2 separate regions of the Homo sapiens genome follow, and region 1 is linked to region 2. The links are contacts of gene promoters, found by promoter capture Hi-C in human tissues and cell types (Jung and others, 2019). All regions are on one chromosome and are shown on one strand. Each heading gives the region's core, a stretch centred on a gene start or on the middle of the fragment in contact. The rest is flanking DNA. Distances are from core to core; before and after follow the strand shown.

Region 1 (4,137 bases), core at 209-2,708, 220 kb before region 2:
CCATTGCCACCCCTCCCCACCCTGTTCCCTCTTAGGTGGAAGGCAATTGTGGCCCTTAGAAACCCTCTGAAGAAGCATCTAACAGCTTTTCTCAGGCCGAAATGGGAGAGGGTGAAGGTTTAGGAAAGAAAACGGTCATTCTTATGTCTTTCCCCAAACCAGATGATTTCCCTTTGTTCCAAACAGTTGGCAAAGACGTCTGGGCAGAGAAAGGGTCCTGACTTGATGCACTGCTCTGCAGGCAGCTGGGTGACTCCGGCCTCTGTTGGTTTGCAGCCTGGGCCAGGGCTGGGGAGTTGCTGAGGGGTGGGCTCAGGCTCACAGTAGGTAGGCTGCTGCTTGGGCTTTCAACTATTACCTCTGATCACAATGAATTCATGAATTTATATTAGTTTGATGCATATCTCTTCCACTGGACTTCCAACCTCTGGAGCGCAGGAACCACACTGTATTTAATTCTGGAGCCTCAGGGCCTGGCACAATGTCAAGCACACAGTAAGTGCTCAGTAAGTGCTAGAGACAAAAACGCACTGCAGCCTCCCTGCCAGCCTGATTTCTGGAGCATCCCTGACTCTCTTAATGGAAAGAGCTTCTCAGAGCTTCCCAAGCTGACTAGAGGAGGGACTGTCATGGTCATGGGCCCTGCTTCCCTCTTATAGTTCTCTTAGCTGGAAGGCAGGATCCTTCTCCTCTGAGCTGCTTCTGAGGCCACTTATTTGTTTATTTCCAAACCCAAAAATGCTTCTTAGGTTTTGCTGCCACCTGACTTGAAGCTCTGACCACCCCAGTGCTACTTCTGCTCTGCCCCATCCAGACATCAAGCGAGATTCATTCCCCCAGCCTCAGACAAACCACACCCCTATCACAACCGTAACTATTCTTAGCAGAGCAGGAAGGGGGGCGCTGCCGAATGACCTCGCTGCCTATAGAGACTTCACCTCCACCCACCCTTCACTCACCCGGTGTCACTTCCCCCTTTTAATAACAACAACACTGACACCAAGTTTCACTTCCACCACTTCCTGTGGGTTTTGTTCATCCTCAGCTGCTGAGGTTTCTAGAGGGTGGGTGAGTCTCTGGCCCAGCTGCAGGAAGGTCCCTCTGACTATAAACTCTACCCCTAAGCATTTAGAGGCTTGCCCTTCAGTCCTCAGACACATTCACCTTTCTTTTTTTTTGCTTTTTTTTTTTGTTTTTTTTTTTGAGGTAGAGTCTCACTCTGCTGCCCAGGCTGGAGTGCAGTGCAGTGGCACGATCTTGGCTCGCTGCAACCTCTGCCTCCCAGCTTCAAGTGATTCTCCTGTCTCAGCTTCCTGAGTAGCTGGGATTACAGGCATGTGCCACCATACCTGGCTAATTTTTGTATTTTTAGTAGAGGCAGTATTTCTCCATGTTGGCCAGGCTGGTCTTGAACTCCTGACCTCAGCCTCCCAAAGTGCTGGGATTATAGGTGTGAGCCACCGCACCTGGCCACATTCTCCTTTTTTTTCTTTTTTTTTTTTTTCCAGACAGAGTTTTGCTCTTGTTGCCCACGCTGGAGTGCAATGGTGTGATCTCAGCTCACCGCAACCTCCGCCCTCTGGGTTCAAGCGATTCTCCTACCTCAGCCTCCCAAGTAGCTGGGATTACAGGCATACACCACGACACCCGGCTAATTTTGTATTTTTAGTAGAGACGGGGTTTCTCCATGTTGGTCAGGCTGGTCTTGAACTCCTGACCTCAGGTGATCCGCCTGCCTTGGCCTCCCAAAGTGCTGGGATTACAGGCATGAGCCACCACACTTGGCCCACATTCTCCTTTTTTAAAGCTGTCCAGAATAGGGGATTCTCCATCCTTCCCTGGGTCAGAATCCCAATATCTGATCCAAGTTCATCCTGTTGACTAACCCAAATCTCTCCTGCTATTAGGGTTGCCATATTTTGCAAGTAAAAATACAGAACACAGAACACCCATTTAAATTTGAATTTCAGATAAACAATGAATAGAAGGCCAGGGGCAGTGGCTTATGCCTGTAATCCCAGCACTTTGGGAGGCTGAGGTGGGCGGATCATGAGGTCAGGAGTTCGAGACCAGCCTGATCAACATGGTGAAACCCTATCTCTACTAAAAATACAAAAATTAGCCGCGTGTGGTGGCGTGCGCCTGTAATCCCAGCTACTCAGTAGGCTGAGGCAGGAGAATTGCTTGAACCCAGGAGACGGAGGTTGTAGTGAGCCGAGACTGTACCACTGTACTCCAGCCTGGGCAAAAGAGCAAGACTCCGTCTCAAAAAAAAAAAAAACAAAAAAAAAAATGAATAACTTTTTAGTTAAGCATGTCCTGTGTAATATTATACTAAAAAAAAATTCATTGTTTATCGGAAATTCAAATGTAACTGGACATCCTTTCTTTTATCTGGCAACCCCCTGCCTGCTGTATTCCTTCTCTTTTTGTTTGGAGACAGTCTTACTGTGTCACCCAGGCTAGAGAGCAGTGGTGTGATCTCAACTCACTGCAGCCTCAACCTCCTAGGCTCAAGGGATCCTCCCACCTCAGCCTCCCAGATAGCTGGGATTACAGGCACATACCACCATGCTCAGCTAATTTTTGCATTTTTAGTAGAGATGGGGTTTCGCCATATAGCCCAGGGTGGTCTTGAACTCCTGGCCTCAAGTGATCCACCCGCCTCATCCTCCCAGAGTGCTGGGATTACAGGCGTGAGTCGCTGCACCCAACCTTGTATTCCTTCGCATGAAAGCAGCAGTTCTCAACCATTTTGATCTCAGGATCTCTTTACACTGTTAGAAATTATTGAGGACACCCAAAGAAGCTTTGTTGATGTGGGTGAATGATAGCTACTGGTATTTACCATATTAGAAAGGCAAACAGACATTTTAAAAGTAGTAATTAAGGCCAGGCGCGGTGGTTCAAACCTGTAATCCCAGCACTTTGGGAGGCCAAGGCGGGTGGATCACTTGAGGTCGGGAGTTCCAGACCAGCCTGGCCAACATGGAGAAACCCCCGTCTCTACTAAAAATACAAAAATTACCCAGGCATGGTGGCAGGCGCCTGTAATCCCAGCTACTTGGGAGGCTGAGGCAGGAGAATCGCTTGAAGCCGGGAGGTGGAGGTTGCGGTGAGCCAAGATCTCACCATGGCACTCCAGGCTGGGCAACAAGAGCAAAACTCCATCTCAAAAAAAAAAAAGAAGAATACAAAAATTAGCCGGGCATGGTGGCACATGCCTGTAATCCCAGCTACTCAGGAGGCTGAGGCAGGAGAATCACTTGAACCTGGGAGGCGGAGGTTGCAGTGAGCCGAGATCACGACACTGCACTCCAGCCTGGGTGACAGAGTAAGTCTCAAAAAAAGAAAAAAAAGCAGGAATTAAGATAACAGTAATATCTCATTATGTACATATGTACAAAAAATAATTTTTCAAAACAAAAAAAATTATTGAGGAGAGTGGCATTGTTCTACATTATTTTACAAATATTTTTTGATTTTTCAATTTTAAATTATGTTAAAAAACATAACATAAAATTACCATCTTAACCATTTTTTTTTTTTTTTGAGACTGAGTCTCACTCTGTCGCCCAGGCTGGAGTGCAGTGGTGCGATCTCAGCTCACTGCAAGCTCTGCCTCCTGGGTTCAAGCGATTCTCCTGCCTCAACCTCTCGAGTAGCTGGGACTATAGGTGCCCACCACCACGAGCGGCTAATTTTTTGTATTTTTAGTAGAGACAGCGTTTCACCGTGTTAGCCAGGATGGTCTCAATCTGCTGATCTCGTGATCCACCCGCCTCAGCCTCCCAAAGTGCTGGGATTACAGGCGTGAGCCACCGTGCCCAGCCCATCTTAACCATTTTTAAGCATATAGTTCAATAGTGTTAAATATATTCATCAATTGAGACCAGAAGGTCAAGGCTGCAGTGAACCATGATTGCGCCACTGCACTCCAGCCTGGGCGACAGAGTGAAACTCTGCCTCAAAAAAATAAATAAATATATTCACACAATTGTGCAGAGGTAGATTCTTATACCTCCAACTGCTGCATTTGGTATGTTGTAATATCACACACCGTGAATCTCTGGAAAACTCCACTGTACACTCATGAGAGAATGAGAGTGAAAAAGGCAAATGATGTTTCCTTATTAT
Region 2 (4,198 bases), core at 1,420-3,919:
AGAGATTCTGAAGCAATCCCATGTGGTGGTGGTGGGGCAGGGGGTGATGTGACAGGCTCTGAGCAGGTGGCTGGCCCTACATCATTTCAGCTGTCATCTCTCCTCTGTGGAGCTGTCCCAAATTCTCTTGGGCAGAGTTAAGGGCTTCTTCCTCTGCTCAGCCCATATTGCCTTGGTAGGTGACTGCCTCTGCATATCTTTCTCCACCTGAACAGTGAACTACATGAGAATAGGAACTGAGACTTAAAATCATCTATCCAATGCAAGGATCCAGTATAGTCCTTGTCACATAGCAGGTGTTCAATAAATGTTTGTTGAATGCATGAATGATGGTAATTATATTTACTATCTATTGAGTTCTCCATTATGAGCCAAGTCCTATGCCAGGCCCTTAGCATACATTACCCTAATATGTACAACAACCATACAAGATTGATTTTAGCAACTTTGTTCTACAGATGGCCTCAGAAAGCTTAGTTCGCTTGCCCAAGTTCACAGAGCAATCTAAGGAGGTGCTGGGAATCAAGGCTCACTTAAGAAGCTCCAAGGTCCCACTCAGCCTATCACATCAGTGCTTCTAATCTTGACACTGTTGGCTCCCTTATCTTCTAGAATCCAATAGTCACAAGGCTCCATGACCCTGTCTCCTACCTATCTCTCAAATCAGTTCCCTCCTCTCCTCCCTGCTGCCGCTGTGTGGTCTAAGCTCATTCTCATTTTCCACTAGGATCAGCCTCCACGTTGGGGGTCTTCAGGACCCAGCACCTGCCTGCCTCTACAGTGTCACCTCCACCCCAGACTTTAAGTTCTGACCTCATGGAACTGTGGGTCCATATTCTGTCACCCCTGCACTCTGCACAAGGGATTACCCCTCCTGGAAAAAACAGGGAAAATCCTTCCTCCTCTCTCTTGTCCCCTCATCCTGTAACCCTCACCTCAAGCAGAATAGCTCCTCCCAGGCATCCGTAACACTAAGCCTCCTCCTATAGCATCCTAACTGTTTGCTTCCCTGCCGCATTACACCAAGAGCTTCTTGAAGGCAGGGACTGGGTTATACTCATCTTATGTGCCCAGAGCCCTGGCTATCATTTGGCACATAAGAGATGTTGAGAAAGTGTTTGTGGAGACCTCTTGACTTCACCCCCCTAGTTCCTTGAAATTCTACCCTTTGGCCCCACTCTCTCTAATCCGCCAGTAAACAGTTCCTTGGCCATAGTCCTTCTCCCTTTCCCTCCCTGCCCCTTCCAAACCTCTTTATGGCCTCCTGCTCCCCAGGCTTCTCACCATCCACTGGACTACAGAGCCAGGAGGTTGCTGCACACCTAAAGGCTCTGGATCCATGCACCCCGACAACACTTGGCAGTTTCATTTTTAGGAAGTGCTGTGCCCAGGAAATCTGCATGCCTTGGCAGAGAAAGCGAGGTAAAAAAAAAAAAAAGAGTTGGGAGGCCCTCTGTGAGATGTCAACTACCCACAGGTCACTTTCATGCATGGGCCCAGTGTCTTCCTTCATTCTCCTGTCTCCAGCTGACAGTGGGACCTCAGGCCCATGTCTTCCAGAAGGAAACTGTTCTATTCTCAACAACTCACAGTCCCCAGGGAAAGGGTTCAGGTAGAAGCACATGTACACTGTGGAGCACCCCCTCCTAAGGAGACTTTCCCTGTGGGAGACCCCAGACTGCAGCAGCCAAGCCCTCTGGTAGGGCAGGGGACACAGACTGCCTTGATGAGGTGCCATAGAGCCAAGGCACACCTCCTCTCCTCACAGCCCTCAGGAGGAAGCAGAGATGAGAGGGGCCTGGCGGTGGGGCACTGTGCCCTTCACCCCCATCCCCAGATTTTTGTTTTGTTTTTTTTTTTGATCCTTGAAGTCAGATGATGTGGGTGCAATGGCCATTGGCCTGAGTTCTAATCATGGCTCGCCATGAACTCTTGTGGCACTTTAGGCCAGTTCAATTGCTTTGCTGGGCCTCAGTTTCCCCTTCTGTAAAATGAGAGTGCCACTAGCTGAACTAGCCATTCTGTAACCCTTCTTGGATGATTCTCAAATATCCTGTGGAGTTTAATTCCAAAAGGACAAGTTGAATTATCCTTCGGGGAGGGAAATGTGAATGATGGCTGGTAACAAGGGCTTCATTCAGGTCCTGGAGAGGTGGGAACTTTGTCCGGAAAGGTAAGTGACAAGTCCCACTGGATAGGGTAGAAGGGGAGCCCGAGGGCTACTATTGTCAAGAAAATGACCACCAAAATCTGTCCATGCACATTCGTTCCTAGGGCGCCAGGTACAGGGAGGTACCTAGGAGAGGTAGGAGCACCGCTTTTAGAGACAGGCAGGCACTCTCAGTGTACCCCTGGCGCCTTGGTGTCCTGGGGTGATCCAGTCCAGAAGGCCTCATCCCCTAGCCAAGGCTCTCAGGGCCGGTTTTAGAAACGAAACAGGAAGAGGCACTTGGACCCTGGTTCCCAGAGTGGGAGAAAGGGGTGGGCACCCGGGCAGAGGGAGCCCTGGGGATTGGTAGCGGCTGTGGGCAGGGCGGGAGGGCCGGGGGCGGAGTCAACTTGTACATGTGAAAAACTCTGGCGGGGGCCGGGCATTTTCCTTCCTCCTCCTCCTCCTCCTCCTCCTCCCTCCTCTTCCCCACCTTCCTCCACTCCCTCCCTTCCCCTCCCCTTCTACCTCCTCCTCGGCCAGCTCAGGTTGCAGCTTCTCTGGGGAACTGCTCACCTTTCCGGAGCAGGGGAAGCTGCCCCGTGCCCGGGAGGGAGCGGGCGCACCGCGGCCCCCAGGACACGCGCTGTGAGTCCCGCGGGCGGTGCGCCTGGGAGGAAGGGGGAGGTCGGAGGAGCGGGCACCGCGGCGCCGGGTATAAGGAGCAAAGGTAAGCGGAACGGCTCTTAAAGGCGCAGTTTTGCTTTTGCCCTGAGGCGAGAGGTTGGAGGGAAATACCGGAGCGGCGAGGGGAGAGCAGAGATCACGAGGCGTGATCTGTGTGATACTGTGTTGTGTGTTGAGGGGTGGGGGGTGCCCTCGAAAGGCCACTCGTAAGTTCCAGGTGCTTGAGAGGGAGGGTTATTTTGCAATCTCAGACCCCGCGCCCCCTTAGGGAGTCTCCATCTGGGATCACTTTGGCCCCTGGGCTCCCGTCTGAACCCTACAAAGCAAAGTTTTCCACCCAGTCCGGAACCAGGCGCTTTCTAAGCTCCCTTCATTCTGGGAAGGGCAAGGGTCAGGAGTCTCCAGGGACCAAAGGACCCGAGAGTGTGGGGCCACATCGCTGCCTTGAAGGGCTTCCTGGGCTCTGGTGAACTTTCCAGAGCGGCAGGCAGGGGGTGGGAGGCCGGAGCCCTGGGAAGAACGTGGAAGGACACGTGAAGCCCTGCAGGTCCCAGTTCTGGGGGAGGCAGGGGTCTGGGGAATGCTGCTGCTTCTCTCTTTCCACCCCGGAAGACCAAAGGGGCAGTGCCCCCCTCCACCCCTCATCAACAGGCGACAGAGGGTTAATGCAGCAGAGGGAAAGGAGGCTGGGTGGGGCCGGGGGGAGTGGGCGGTGACCTGTTGGGCTAAGGAGATGTGCCTTGAGGATTCTGCTGTAGTTGAGGGACACCATCAGGAATCTGAAATCCAAAATCGGGTCTGGACTGGAGGCCTCTGTTTTCGCCCTGTGGGGGGCGGGGATTCCCTGAAGGTGTCTGCAGACCTTGTGCTGGGTGGGAGTTGGGCTGCAGAAACAGTGAGGGGTTTTCTGTGCTGCAGGGTCAGCACCCTCCTAGGCACCAGCCCTGCCTCTCTTCATTCTCTCTGGGCACCTCCCGGCAGTCGGGGTGGGAGGATTGACACTGTGGGAGTGAGAGGCCCTGGAACCTCTTCCGCGCTATCTGCTACTGTCTCCCCTTCTTCCCCACCCCTAGCCCAGCCCTCGGCAGTTCCCCAGCTGTAGCCTGGGCCCTGTGACTCACTAACACCACCGGCTTGCCCCTCCTGTGTCAGCACCCAGTGAGCTTCGGCATGTTCGCGTGGCATTCCCCACCCGGGCATGGGCATGCAGCACATTCCTGGACACGGGCCTGAGAGGATGCCTGGAGCGCCTGGTGGACTGGCACGTCCTCAGAGATCCCCTGCCTTTAGCCTGGCCTTGGGAGGGGCCTGGGAAAACGGTGCTGAGGGTGCTGAGGGTCGGTGGAGTACAGGGCGACACTG

What was found. The method cuts DNA at HindIII sites, captures the fragments that hold promoters and counts their contacts. A contact is called where the count stands out against the background at its distance.
Region 1: a fragment that was not itself captured here is called in contact with the fragment with the promoter of CDK18 in region 2 in 1 of the 25 tissues and cell types used here (hippocampus).

Annotation. Positions count from the first base shown.
Region 1 is chr1:205,287,434-205,291,570 of GRCh38, forward strand. No RefSeq gene overlaps it. Among named protein-coding and RNA genes, the nearest start is that of NUAK2, 32 kb to the right of the region's middle. The HindIII fragment of the contact is 8,183 bases long and covers 1-4,137 here.
Region 2 is chr1:205,502,000-205,506,197 of GRCh38, forward strand. CDK18 (cyclin dependent kinase 18) reads left to right here and starts at 2,670. Exons shown (of 16, transcript NM_212502.3): 1 at 2,670-2,797. The HindIII fragment of the contact is 16,948 bases long and covers 234-4,198 here.